Linked DNA regions of Homo sapiens: region 1 is linked to region 2. The links are contacts of gene promoters, found by promoter capture Hi-C in blood cells and fetal thymus (Javierre and others, 2016). All regions are on one chromosome and are shown on one strand. Each heading gives the region's core, a stretch centred on a gene start or on the middle of the fragment in contact. The rest is flanking DNA. Distances are from core to core; before and after follow the strand shown. Region 1 overlaps LINC02453 (long intergenic non-protein coding RNA 2453). Region 2 holds the start of AMDHD1 (amidohydrolase domain containing 1).

The links. The method cuts DNA at HindIII sites, captures the fragments that hold promoters and counts their contacts. A CHiCAGO score of 5 or more calls a contact.
Region 1: a fragment that was not itself captured here is called in contact with the fragment with the promoter of AMDHD1 in region 2 in 1 of 17 cell types (non-activated CD4 T cells); the score reaches 5.6 in non-activated CD4 T cells.

Annotation. Positions count from the first base shown.
Region 1 is chr12:98,485,777-98,493,107 of GRCh38, reverse strand. It overlaps LINC02453 (long intergenic non-protein coding RNA 2453), which reads left to right. Exons shown (of 4, transcript NR_038383.1): 4 at 5,920-7,331. Among named protein-coding and RNA genes, the nearest start is that of TRD-GTC1-1, 14 kb to the left of the region's middle. RefSeq lists a silencer at 2,283-2,577. The HindIII fragment of the contact is 2,331 bases long and covers 235-2,565 here.
Region 2 is chr12:95,941,508-95,948,608 of GRCh38, reverse strand. It overlaps AMDHD1 (amidohydrolase domain containing 1), which reads right to left and starts at 5,278. Exons shown (of 9, transcript NM_152435.3): 1 at 5,074-5,278. The coding sequence starts at 5,210. CCDC38 (coiled-coil domain containing 38) reads left to right here and starts at 5,995. Exons shown (of 16, transcript NM_182496.3): 1 at 5,995-6,178. The HindIII fragment of the contact is 927 bases long and covers 4,589-5,515 here.

The sequences.
Region 1 (7,331 bases), core at 151-2,650, 2.5 Mb before region 2:
TGACAGGAACCTTACCTATCTTCTTGATCCTTTCGTTATACAGATAAGGAAACTGAGGCCAGACAGCTCCAGTGATTTAACTAAATTCCTGTGGCCGAGAACATCACCTTTATCTGTTGCTGTAAATTAAGGAATCTGTGGGCTTAGTGATTAGGTGTCCCTCAGAGGTTTTCAGGGCCTCAGATCTTGCCATCACTTTCCTTAGAGTTATCTGTTCCTGGGCTGGCCTAAGCTTCCTGTCCTTTAAGGAACCTGCCTGCCAACATTGGCCCCAACCCAACAGGAGATCAGTGACCTCCGTTTTCCTGACTTTTTTCCTGCCCTACTGACCACCTGCTGACCTATCCCGGTTAATAGCTTTACTGATCTGTCTAGCTTTGAGGCAAACACTAGCCCCAGTGTGAGGAACAAAGGGTCCTGGTGACCCACACCCCCTGGCCCTTTGGCATTCAGTCCTCAGGCTACCCAGAAGGACAAATTATTCAGCCTGTTTGGGGTGGGATGGAACAGTTTCTACTTCTTTTCTTTGGATTTTTTTTTTTTTTTTGAGACCCGTCTCACTCTGTCACCCAGGCTGGAGTGCAGTGGTGTGACCTTGGCTCACTGCAACCTGCGCCTCCCAAGTTCAAGCAATTTTCATGCCTCAGCTGCCCGATTAGCTGGGACTACAGGTGCGGGCCACCATGCCTGGCTAATTTTTGTATTTTTAATAGGGATAGGGTTTCACCATGTTGACCAGGCTGGTCTCAAATTCCTGACCTTGTGATCCGCCTTGGACTTCCAAAGTGCTGGGATTACAGGTGTGAGCCACTGCGACAGGCCTTTTCTTTAGTCTTTCCGTGTTTTCTAAACACAAAGCAACAGAAAAACTTCTGCTTCAAATGCATGACTCAGGTCTGGCATTCAAGTTGCTGCTATTTTGGGAAAAAAGCTGCCTGTAGCTTTTGAAATTTCTTATTCTCCTACCTGTGATTAACTCATATGATTAGCAAAGTTTTATTATCAGAATTTATCAATAAAATGAAGTTAGTGATCTAGAAAATAAGAAGAGAACCAGCACAAAATAGCACGCAGAATCCCATTTTTTTTCTATGCATTTGTAAGTACTGGAAACGTCTGGTGGCTGGGTGCGGTGGCTCATGCCTGTAATCCCAGCACTTTGGGAGGCTGAGGCGGGAGGACCACTTGAGGTCAGGAGTTCGAGACCAGGCTGGCCAACAGAGTGAAACCCCGTCTCTACTAAAAATACAAAAATTAGCTGGGCGTGGTGGTGGGTGCCTATAATCCTAGCTACTCGGGAGGCTGAGGCAGGAGAATCACTTGAATCTGGGAGGCGGAGGTTGCAGTGAGCCTAGATCGCGCCATTATACTCCAGCATGGGGACAGAGTGAGACTCCGTCTCAAAAAAAAAAAAAAAAAAAAGGAAGAAAGAAAGAAGAAAACATCTGGAAAGAAGTAGCTGAAGATATTAAAAGTAGTTATATCTGGGTTAAGAGTGTGTTGATGATCGCTGTTCTTTTTGCTATTCCACCTTTTCTAAATTTTCTACTATGTGCATATATTGAACTCAGAAAAGCAAACAATAAAATTTTCTTTAAAGTTATTAATATTAGGCAAAGCAAATAGCTCAAATGTACATTTGTGATAGTCCTCTTAGCCTATGACATGTTGAGTAATGTATTCTAGTTTGGTTTTCCTTGTTAGCCAGATTTCATTATTTTGCAGCTTAAGTTGTTTATTTCTAGTTCCTTAAGGTGGGGAGGAGGTGAGGAGGTGAGGAGGGTGAAGAAGCAAATTCCACTTCAGTAAAACAGGGCGTGCAGCCTTTTCCCCTGAGTCCCTTTGTCTCAAGGCCCCTGTGTTCCGGGTCTTTTGTTGTTCTCTGCATGGACTTTGATTCGAGATTTAAAGAAAAACAAGTGCTGGCCCTCCTTGCGCCCTCTGGTGTCCCAGTGAGGTATAACCGGACAAACCGCACAAAGATCACAGCCATTTTCACACAGCGCTCCCCCGACACAGTGATGCCTGGAGACGGGAATGTCTGGAATCTTAGAGGAAGGAATCACACACCGACAAGCATGGCAGGCTTAGTCTTTGAAACTTAATCAGAGCCTGTAAGTATGGATACTGTTTTTTAAAAAATTAAAAGCAGTATCTGGACTGCAAGTATTTAAAAAACCTAATAGGAAATAAGTCAACTCTCAAAGCATTTGGCACAGCTTTCTGGGTTCTAAAACTAAGAAAATCTTACTACATATGTTGTTTTATAAATACAGCATAAACCAGTACTTTGTTATTTGTTTTAAAAATTTCTTTTAGAGACAGGGTCTTGCTCTGTCACCCAGGCGGGAGAGCAGTGGTGCAATCTTAGCTCACTGCAGCCTTGAATTCCTGGCCTCGGGTGATCCTCCATGCTTCCGCCTCCCAAAGGACTGGGTTTACAGGTGTGAGTCACTGTGCCTGGCCTAGAACTTTGGATTAATTGCAAATAAATTAGGTGAAAGAGAGGTCTGGATACCTAGGCTTTAGCTTGACTGAGGATAATGATTTCCGCAACTTTAAGCTTTACCATGTAGACCAAAAATAAAATTCTAAGCTCCCCAATCAGTTGAATGGATGCCTCCTTGTCCAGGGGCATTCCAAAGTTACCTGAAACGCTAGTTCATGTCATGATGGGAACAGGTGGTCAGACAAGCCTCATTATACTCTCCTCCCTTTGGGACAGAGTCCCTTTGGGATTCAGGCACATCTGACCAGCATTAACATAAGTCTGACAAAGAAGGCTTTTTGTAGCAGTAAGATACCAACATGACAGACAGCAGGCCCTGAAGTAAATTGAAGTAGTTTACCCCAAAAAATATATATATATTTTTGACACATTTTGAAATGGCCCTGCAAAGGTGTCTCTTGTGGGGAAAATCTACTTTCAGTAGAGAATCCCCTTCCCTTTCCAGATATTTTTCCTTAACCAGGAGAGAATTTACTGAGAGTCTTGCACCTTAAAAAGGTAAAAAATAAAATTTTTGGCTGGGCATGGTGACTCACGCCTATAATCCCAGCACTTTGGGAGGCCAAGGCAGGTGAATCACCTGAAGGTCAGGAGTTCGAGACCAGCCAGGCCAACATGGTGAAACCCCATCTCTGGCTAATACAAAAATTAGCCAGGCATGGGGTGGGGGTGTGGGCGCCTGTAATCCTAGCTACTTGGGAGGCTGAGGCAGGAGAATTACTTGAACCTGGGAGGTGGAGGTTGCAGTGAGCCGAGATCACACCATTGCACTCCAGCCTGGGCAACAAGAGCGAAACTTCGTCTCAAAAAATAAAATAAAATAAAATAAAATAAAAAAAATAAATAAAAATTAAAAGTTTTACAATCTGACCTGGTGCTGTGGCCCACTCCTGTAATCCCAGCACTTTGGGAAGCCGAGGCAGGTGGGTTGCTTGAGCCCAGGAGTTCGAGATAAGTCTGGGCAACACGGTGAAACCCTGTCTCTACTAAAAATACAAAAATTACCAGGACGTAGTGGCGCGCATCTGTAATCCCAGCTACTCCAGAGGCTGAGAGGTGCGAGGATGGCTTGAGCCTGGGAGGTTGAGGCTGCAGTTAGCTGAGATTGCACCACTGCACTCCAGCCTGGGTGATGGAGTGAGACCCAGAAATAATTACAATGTGTTCTTTCTGAAGCCTGCTACCTGGAGGCTTTATCTGCATAACAAGAACCTTGGTTTTCGCAACCCCTTATCTTAATTCAGGCACTCCCTTCTATAAATTTCAGGTCTTTAGATAAACTCTTTCAACTAACTCCCAATCAGAAAATCTTTGAATTCACTCATGATGTAGAAGCGCCCCATCCACCCTCACTGAACCAATGTACATCTTACATGTATTTTTTGATGTCTTCTGTCTCTCTAAAATGTGTAATAAAAAGCTGTAGTCCGACCACTTTGAGCACACGTTCTCAGGATTTCCTGGGGCTGTGTCACTGGCCATGGTCACTCATATTTGGCTCAGAATAAGTCTCTTCAAATATTTTACAGAGTTTGACTCTTTTCTTCATCGACAATCAATATGTGAGAGTTGATACTGAAGGTCCCTTTTGTCTATAATATACTTCATTCTATCGCATTTTTCACCAGACTGTTTTGTTTGGTTTTTATAGAGATGAGATCTCACTTTGTTGCCCAGCCTGGTCTCTTGGGCTTAGGAGATCCTCCCTCCTCAGCCTTCTAAAGTTCTGGGATTACATGTGCGAGCCCCCACCCTCAAACTGTGCCTTTTTTTTTTTTTTTTGAGCCCGAGTCTCACTCTGTCACCCAGGCTGGAGTATAGTGCCACGATCTCGGCTCACTGCAACCTCCACCTCCCGGGTTCAAGCATTTCTCCCTGCTTCAGCCTCCCGAGTAGCTGGGATTACAGGCGTCCGCCACCATGCCTGGCTGATTTTTTTTTTCTTTTTTTTTGTATTTTTAGTAGAGACAGGATTTCGCCATGTTGGCCAGACTGGTTTTGAACTCCAGACCTCAGGTGATCTGCCTGCCTCAGCCTTCCAAAGTGCTGGGATTGCAGGTGTGAGCCACTGCACCTGGCTAAACTGTGCTTTTTAAAATTGTATTTCCACTAAAAAAATGTAGATGTAAAATATTTTTGGTTTAAATACTTGATTGATAAGATCTCAGGCGTGGTGGCCCATGCCTGCAATCCCAGCACTTTGGGAGGCTGAGGCGGGTAGATCACCTGAGGTCAGGAGTTCGAGAGCAGCCTGGCCAACATGGTGAAACCCCATCTCTACTAAAAATACAAAATTAGCCTGGCATGGTGGCATGCGCCTGTAATCCCAGCTCGGGAGGCTGAGGCAGGAGAATTGCTTGAACCTGGGAGGTAGAGGTTGCAGTGAGCCGAGATCACACCATTGCACTCTAGCCTGGGCAACAAGAGTGAAACTCCATCTCAAAAAAAAACAACAACAAACAAACAAACAAAAAAACCTCAGGCATTACAGTTTTATTTGAATAGGCAATTCATGCACACAGAACAAAGTTCAAAAAGTACCAGATACCAGGAGGTATAAGGTATGGAGAGGAAAGTCTTTCTCCCATTTTTTCTTCTCTTTTCTTTCTTTTTTTTTTTTTTTTTGAGACAAGCTTCTTTCTGTCACCCAGGCTGGAGTGCAATGGCGTGATCCCAGCTTGTTGCAACCTCTGCCTCTCGGCTTCAAGCAGTTCTTCTGCCTCAGCCTCCAGAGTAGCTGGGATTATAGGCATGCCACCATGCCCGGGTAAGTTTTGTATTTTTTAGTAGAGACAGGGTTTCACTAGGTTGGCCAGACTGGTGTCGAACTCCTGGCCTCAAGTGATCTGCCTGCCTCGGCCTCCCAAAGTGCTGGAATTATAGGCATGAAACACATGCCCAACTTCTCTCCCATTTCTAACTCACAACAATTCTCTTGAGTGATGTTGGGGTTGGTCTGGCAGCTCAACAAGGCCATCATAGGCTTTGAGTACTCTCTTCTTGTTCTGGGTCTTTCTTCTCTGCTACCTTTAGCAAAAGGACATTTCTTTTCATGATTGTCACTTCATGTCTGCAAAGTAGCTGCTGCAGCCATCATGGCCAGTTTCAAGGCTGGAACATGAGGGAAGAGGCAGCTCCAGCACACTATACTTTTGAATGTCCCTTTTTACTGGGAGAAAGCCTTTCCAGGGAAATCCTGACAGTTGTTTTCCTGTTTCATTAACCACTATTGGGCCACACAGAGGCTGGGAAACTGACTGCCAGGCAAAAGGGTATGAATAATGATTCTAATATTAGTTTTTTTTTTTTTTTATTCTAGTTTTCTGTGCTGGGTGTAAGAGCTGAAATTTGTTAGTATAACACCATTTTTCCTCAATTCAACAATGATGTTTTCATCATTTCTATTTCAGGAGATACATCCAGAAGACTGCATTACAATTTCAAATCAAAGCTGGACAAGTTTTTTTTTTTTTTTACACAGATATCACCATGTTAGAAAAGTTGGACAAGTTTTGAAACCATTCTGAACCTATCATTCCTGTCTTTCAAATCCTTCCAAGGCATCTTATTATTGATTTGTTTCTATATTTTCCTCATTATTAAAGAGGTTGAGTATCTTTTCTCTAGAGCTAGTTTGGGTTCTGATTTTCTTCACTTTCGTGATGGAGTCATTTTAGAATTGAAGGGCATCATAGCAACTGAGGCAGTGTTGACATCATCAATGTTTTAGGATTACAGGTAACCATATTTCCCAGTTTGCTTGGGACAAGGCCAGTTTGTACCTCTTGTCCTAGCATTTTTTTTTTTTTTTTTTTTTTTGAGACAGAGTCTCGCTCTGTCACCCAGATTGGAGTGCAGTGGCGTGATCTCAGCTCACTGCAATCTCCACCTCCTGGGTTCAAGTGATTCTCCTGCCTCAGCCTCCTGAGTAGCTGGTATTACAGGCACGCACCACCATGCCTGGCAAATTTTTGTATTTTTAGTAGACACGGGGTTTCGCCATGTTGGCCAGTCTGGTATCAAACTCCTGACCTCAAGTGACGCCCTGGCTCGGCCTCCCACAGTGATGGGATTACAGGCGTGAGCCACCGTGCCTGGCCCTAGTATATTTTTTAATAGCATTGCATTCAATCTCAAAAGTGTGTGAGTTTTGATGAAAAATTATATGGTGGTCATTTATTATCTGAAATACACATCAAAATACCACTATTGCCATTTTGCTCTGGTATCTTCATCAGTGGGTGCAGGATTGTCATGAAGGCGGGGGGAGGTTGTTCTGCTTCCTTCTCTGTTGCATCCCCAGAGCCCAGAACAGTGCCCAGCACCCAGTAAGTGCTTAATGAATATGAATGCATCTGCACATAAATTCGTTTCTTGGGGCTTGGCACATTGCCACTTGAACAAATGGATTCTATTAACAAGGAGTATGGAGCAATGATTTTGGGGTACACAACTCATGGCGCCTGCCAAAACATGCGCTTTAGATTTTGATAGATATCGTCAAGTTGTTCTCCGCAGGGGTTGAGCCAGTTTACACTCCCACCAGCAATATGTGAGAGCATCTGTTTCTCTAACCTTCACCCACATGGTGTTATCAAAATTTTTATCTGTGCCAATCTGGTATTTTAAATTTGCATTTTCTTTATTATGGAAAGATAGAGCATACTTTCATATGTTTAAAAGCCATTTGAAATTTCTAAGAACTGTCTGTTCATATCCTCTGCCCATTTTTTTTTTTTCAGTGAATTACTGGTCTTTTTCTTATCAATCCATAGGAATACAAATAGTTGTTCCAAGCTTTTCATGCCTTTTGAGTTTGTTT
Region 2 (7,101 bases), core at 4,029-6,528:
GCTGGGCAGAGGCGCCCCTCACCTCCCGGACGGGTCGGCTGGCTGGGCGGTGGGGGCTGACCCCCCCCCCACCTCCCTCCCGGACGGGGCAGCTGGCCGGGCGGGGGGCTGACACCCCCACCTCCCTCCCGGACGGGGCGGCTGGCCGGGCAGAGGGGCTCCTCACTTCCCAGTAGGGGCGGCCGGGCAGAGGCGCCCCTCACCTCCCGGACGGGGCCACTGGCCGGGCAGGGGGGCTGACCCCCCCCCACCTCCCTCCCAGACGGGGCGGCTGGCCGGGTGGGGGGCTGACCCCCCCACCTCCCTCCCGGACGAGGCGGCTGGCCGGGCGTGGGGCTGACACCCCCACCTCCCTCCTGGACAGGGCGGCTGGCCGGGCGGGGGGCTGACCCCCCCACCTCCCTCCCGGATGGGGCGGCTGGCCGGGCGGGGGGCCGACCCCCCCACCTCCCTCCCGGACGGGGCGGCTGGCCGGGCAGAGGGGCTCCTCACTTCCCAGTAGGGGCGGCCGGGCAGAGGCGCCCCTCAACTCCCAGACGGGGCGGCTGGCCGGGCGGAGGGCTGACCCCCCCACCTCCCTCCCGGACAGGGCGGCTGGCCGGGCGGGGGGCTGACCCCCCCACCTCCCTCCCGGACAGGGCGGCTGGCCGGGCGGGGGGCTGACCCCCCCACCTCCCTCCCGGATGGGGCGGCTGGCCGGGCAGAGGGGCTCCTCACTTCCCAGTAGGGGCGGCCGGGCAGAGGCGCCCCTCACCTCCCAGACGGGGCGGCTGGCCGGGCGGGGCGCTGACCCCCCCACCTCCCTCCCGGACGGGGCGGCTGGCCAGGCGGGGGGCTGACCCCCCCACCTCCCTCCCGGACGGGGCGGCTGGCCGGGTGGGGGGGCTGACCCCCCCATCTCCCTCCCGGACGGGGTGGCTGGCCGGGCAGAGGCGCCCCTCACCTCCCGGACGGGGCGGCTGGCCGGGCGGGGGGCTGACCCCCCCACCTCCCTCCTGGACGGCACGGCTGTCCGGGCGGGGGGGCTGACCCCCCACCTCCCTCCCGGATGGGGCGGCTGGCCGGGCAGGGGGCTGACCCCCCCCACCTCCCTCCCGGACGGGGTGGCTGCCGGTCGGAGACGCTCCTCACTTCCCAGATGGGGTGGCTGCCGGGCGGAGAGGCTCCTCACTTCTCAGACGGGGCAGCTGCCGGGCGGAGGGGCTCCTCACTTCTCAGACGGGGTGGTTGCCAGGCAGAGGGTCTCCTCACTTCTCAGACGGGGCGGCCGGGCAGAGACGCTCCTCACCTCCCAGACGGGGTCTCGGCCGGGCAGAGGCGCTCCTCACATCCCAGATGGGGCGGCGGGGCAGAGGCGCTCCCCACATCTCAGACGATGGGCGGCCGGGCAGAGAGGCTCTTCACTTCCTAGATGTGATGGCGGCTGGGAAGAGGCGCTCCTCACTTCCTAGATGGGATGGCGGCCGGGCAGAGACGCTCCTCACTTTCCAGACTGGGCAGCCAGGCAGAGGGGCTCCTCACATCCCAGACGATGGGCGGCCAGGCAGAGACACTCCTCACTTCCCAGACGGGGTGGCGGCCGGGCAGAGGCTGCAATCTCGGCACTTTGGGAGGCCAAGGCAGGCGGCTGGGAGGTGTAGGTTGTAGTGAGCCGAGATCACGCCACTGCACTCCAGCCTGGGCACCATTGAGCACTGAGTGAACGAGACTCCGTCTGCAATCCCGGCACCTCGGGAGGCCGAGGTTGGCGGATCACTCGCGGTTAGGGGCTGGAGACCGGCCCGGCCAACACAGCGAAACCCCGTCTCCACCAAAACCAGTCAGGCGTGGCGGCGCGTGCCTGCAATCACAGGCATTCGGCAGACTGAGGCAGGAGAATCAGGCAGGGAGGTTGCAGTGAGCCGAGATGGCAGCAGTACAGTCCAGCTTCGGCTCCGCATGAGAGGGAGACCGTGGGGAGAGGGAGAGGGAGGGGGAGGGGGAGGGGGAGGGGGAGGGGGAGGGGGAGGGGGAGGGGGAGGGGGAGGGGGAGCAGTCTCTTATAATAAGCCTGCATGCACACATCTCTCTACCTTTGTGCTTACCATATTGTATTATAATTATCTTTTCATGTGTCTTGTTTCCCAGTAGACTTTGAGCTCTTTGAGGTCTGAACCAGTCTTAGTCATTTTTGCATCCTCTACGCTGAGCACAATCTAACTACTCAGCACATATTTGTGAATGAATGAAAATGTCCTATTTTAGGTTCATTGTCCACCTGACAGTTTAATTGGCTTCTAGGAAGGAAAATATAACACCCACCAATTTTTCCTTCAACATTTTCCATTTTTGCCCCTCCTCTGAAGTGCTAAAACAAATGGTCCTTGTGTATGAATCTATATTTTAATTCCTGTTTGTTTTGTTCATTTAGACATTTTCATCTAGGTTTTAGCCTTTGGATGGGACAATTGTCAACTGGATGACAGTTTGTGCTTCTTTTCCACACCTGGGAGCCTCTTCAAGATTAACTGCAATCTACACACACACACACACACACACACACACACAGAGAGAAAGAGAGAGAGAACTTAATTTAAGAATGAGATACCTTTAGAGACCTAAATGAATGAACACAATGGTGGAATTTACACCCTATGGCAGACAATCACTGAGATATTTATTTTTAGGAAGGGGGAGTTTCTGGTGTCCCTCAAACCATATTCTTTTCCAGGACTCATTTTATATATCTATAGCATATAGGGGATTAACTATTAGTTGATCTTACTGAGATTCATTCTAATCAGGACACACCATGGTATGTATATACTTGTTGGGAAAAAAAAAAACACACACTGTTAAAATCCATCCAATTCTGGGCTTTGAAATGGAACTTTCTTCCACTTCTCTGTGCTTTTAATCAGTACCCCTCTCCCTATACACACTCACACTCACAGCCTGTGTTCTTCTTGTCTACCAAAAGAAGAGCAGGATTAAGTTGTCCTTGAACACACAGGTTCTGCATAAGGGAAGTGATGTGAAAATTTAAGACAATCACCTAAATAATTCACCCTGAAAACACTTTTACCTTAAAACATTCAGATAATGAGGTGGGAGATATATTTCAAAGCATCTCAAATAACCAGATAATTATTCCAATTCTATACTTGATTTTTGCACCAACCTAATATATAAGACAGTGATGATAGTAAGTGAAAATAAAAACAACACCATCCTGTACCGAGCTAATCATATTTGAATGGCAAAGTTCTCAATATTCTTGTAAATTTATTTCATTGTAATAAATCCAACAAACTGTGAGAACAATGTAGCAGACTCAAATGAAAAAGCCCCATCTTCCAGACCACAAGTCAGCTCCCTCCTTTTCCTTTCCCTACTTTTTGTGGTTTTGATGTGAACATAGAACATGTCTTGGAACCCAGGACTTCATGTTGGTGCATTAGTATCATTTTATTTATGTATTTATTTATTTATTTTTGAGACAGAGTCTCGCTCTGTCACCCAGGCTGGAGTGCAGTGGCGAGATCTCAGCTCACTGCAACCTCCGCCTCCCGGGTTCAAGCGATTCTCCTGCCTCAGCCTCCCGAGTAGCTGGGATTACAGACGTGCGCCGCCATGCCCGGCTAATGTTTGTATTTTTAGTAGAGATGGGGTTTCATCATGTTGGCCAGGCTGATCTCGAGCTCCCAACCTCAGGTGATCCACCTGCCTCAGCTTCCCAAAGTGCTGGGATTGCAGGCGTGAGTCACTGTGCCTGGTCGCATTGATATAATTTTTATAAGATACTCCAGTCCCAACCCAGGTACATATTTTTCAACTTTCTAAGCAAAATTTTAAATAATATTTTCATAGTAAATTGGGAATGTTTTCATCCCTTAATTAAAAATAAACCAGTCAAGCTGGGCGTGGTGGTTCACGCCTGTAATCTCAGCACTGGGAGGCCAAACCAGGTGGATGGCTTGAGCCCAGGAGTTCAAGACCAGCCTGGGCAACACAGTGAGACATTGTCTCTACAAAAAATACAAAAATTAGCCTGGCGTGGTGGCGTGCACCTGTAGTCCCAGCTGCTTGTCAAGCTGAGGTGGGAGGATGGCTTGAGCCTGGGAGGTGGAGATCGCAGTTGAGCCTGGGAGGTGGAGCCAAGATCATGCCACTGCACTCCAACCTGGGCAACAGAGCTAGACCCTGTCTCAAAAAAACAAAAAATAGGCTGGGCGCAGTGGCTCATGCGTCTCAAAAATAAATAAATAAATAAATAAATAAATAAATAAATAAATAAATAAAATTAAACCAACCCACAGTCCCTTAAAAGCTGGGCTCTTGCACAACCCTAAACTGCCTCAGATAAGCCGTGGTCAGTTTGTGAGACTCATTGATCGTGTGCAATTGTGGTCCCATGGCACGCTTTGGATTCAAATTCTCATCCAACTTCCCTTGCTACCCCAGGTCGCCCTCAAACTTTGTTCTTTTATTCATATCTGGCAGGAAGCTCAGATGAGTAAGAGAAATATCTTGTTTTCTGATGGTCAAATCTTGATTTATTATCACTCAGGGCCATTATCGTCTAAATGTTCTCCGTGGTTCTAAAGCTTTAGTGTACGAGATCACGAGGATGTGAAAGGTACTTTTGAAAAATTCAGGTCTCAGAACTCCAGCCCCAGTGATGCTGATTCTAAAATTCTAGGGATAGGGAGTGGGGGACGCAGGTGGAATCAGAAATCTGCCGTAAGAATAAAATAACCACAGGCCACCCTGACAAAGGTGGTCTTCTGGCCTCCCTTTAAGAAGCACTGGGGAGGACCTCAACCCCTTCTGATGGTTGGACAGTGATATTTTACCAGCAGAGGCAGGACCCTGATGCGTTCCAATGGGGTGTTCCTCTCTGAGCTCTTTGGACGGAATGACAACCCCAAGCAGCAGAGCGTGTTAGCAACAGGTACCCCAAAGGCTGGCTTGCCCGTGTATCTCTGTGCAGGGACGCTTTCACGGCGTTGTTTCCCTCCAGAGTGCACAGTGAGAGGAAGAGCGGCCAGCTCCGCCCGTGGCGGTCCCCACCCTGCGCGCCCGGCCACTTACTTGCCCACCACCAGGCTGGCGCCTTCCAGCACCGCCAGGCTGCGCAGCGCATCCCGCGCCAGGAAGCGCTCGCCGCGGGCGCACACCAGCACCACTTGCTGCGCGTTCTCCAGCAGGAGGCTGTGGCCGCTTGCCATGTCGCCTCGCGCCGAGGGTCGCCGGGAGGCCACCGGGCTCGGGCCACCGGCAGGACTCAGTGGAGGACGAAAAGCCGCAGCCTGCGCTGTCCGGGGCTGGGAGGGTGGGGCGGGGGCGGGCGCTCGCAGCCGCTGCCCTTTGCTCGCCTCCCCCAACCACAGCAACGGGGGCGGTAATCATTGCAAGAATGGCAACGAGTAATAAACCTGATGAGGAATCCTCTCTTTTTTGGTCGTCTTGTCCCATCCCGAGTAAACGAGATGGAGACTAGTGTCCCTACTTTTCAGATAAGGAAACTTAAGCTTGGTCACCCCGAGAGATCAAAGTGAGCTGTGTGGATCACGTGGTATGTGGAAGCGCGTCAAGGGTTGGCTGGGTGAGGGCACCCGGAGTGTTCGGGAGTGAGGGACCGGAACCTGGGGTAGAGCCCCGGAAGGGGGGCCATGGGGGAAACCTCTGCCCGGGGGGTTGGGGTGGGAGCCTGGAGATAGCGCTCCTGGAGAGGGCAGAGTAGGGGAAAGCTGTGCCCAGGGGCAGGGACGGGAGCTTGGAGGTAGAGCCCCGGGAGAGGACAGAGTGGGGGAAACCTCTGCCTAGGGTGCTGGGACGCGAGCCTGGAGGCAGAGCCCCGGGAGGGTACTGCGTGGAGGAAACATCTGCCCACAGGTTCTGGGGCGGGAGCCCGGGACGCGGAGGGCCGCGAGCCGAGGGAACCTGGGGGTGGGGAGGAGGGGGATGCGGTAGGGGAGGTGCTCCTGGGTCCGCGCGGGTGGCGGGTGCCCCGCACTTATCCGTTGGCCAGCTGCGTTCCGGGATCAGCTACCAGACGGTCCCTGAGATGACCGGGAACCGGGCTGGGGGAGGATAGAGCCGAGACTGGAGGATCGATTGGCACCTCCGCCCACTTTTCCCACAACGCCTTCCCGAACGATAGGTTGGAAAGGCTCCTGGATCCAAACTCGCTGAGGTAAAATAGGTTTCAGCTCAGTGTCCGCCCCTCCGCATGCCCCCTCCCACCCCTCAGCTGTGTCTGGTGGGCCTACAAGCAACTTGCGACCAAAATTGGAGACAGAATCAAGTTTATGGAAGATGGTCTGTGATTCTCAGCCTCGTCGCTTCCTGCTACCAATTGCTATGGAAACACTGCCAGGCCCAGGCTTTTGAGTCCTTAATTACTTGATTTCGTTTATTCATGTTTATCACAAGCTCTGTGTTAAGTCTTGTGGAACATACAAAGATAGGAAAGGCGCTTTCCCTGCCCAGTAAAGACTTTACAATAAAAGTGATAGATGTGGACACAAATAATATACTATAAAAGCAGACTAAGCCTGCAAACCCACAAAATATAAAAGTTAATTTAGTCTCATTAAAAAAACCTGGAACAGAAAGCAAACACTCCTTTAGATGACCACGATAAATAAGAATATAATTTAGCTTCATATTATGGCCTATAAAAGAGAGATCAGTTAGGAAAGAGAAAGATAAAAATTGGAAAATATATAGACAATGTGAGTGAAAGAGACCCTAAGGGTGGGGGGGAGGGGGCATCAGAAGATTATTCACAGCTCATATACACAATCACAAACAGGTTGTTTGTGTGTGTGTGTGCATAGCTTTTAAAAAGTTTATACATACATATATTTCTATGTCTTTAAAAAGAGAAGTAGAAATAGTGGGGAATAGAAACACATAAAGTCACTAATTCACAGAGAAATATTAAAATTTTCTATTATAAAATTTCTGCTGAAGACTTTAATCAGTTACATTTTGCAATTTTAGGCATATTTGCAGAACTATGCAATTGTATGTATAAAGGATGGGTTAAAATTATAGAAAAATAGGGTTCAATAAACTTGTCTTAGTCTGAGTTCTGTTTCCTATAAGCTGTTT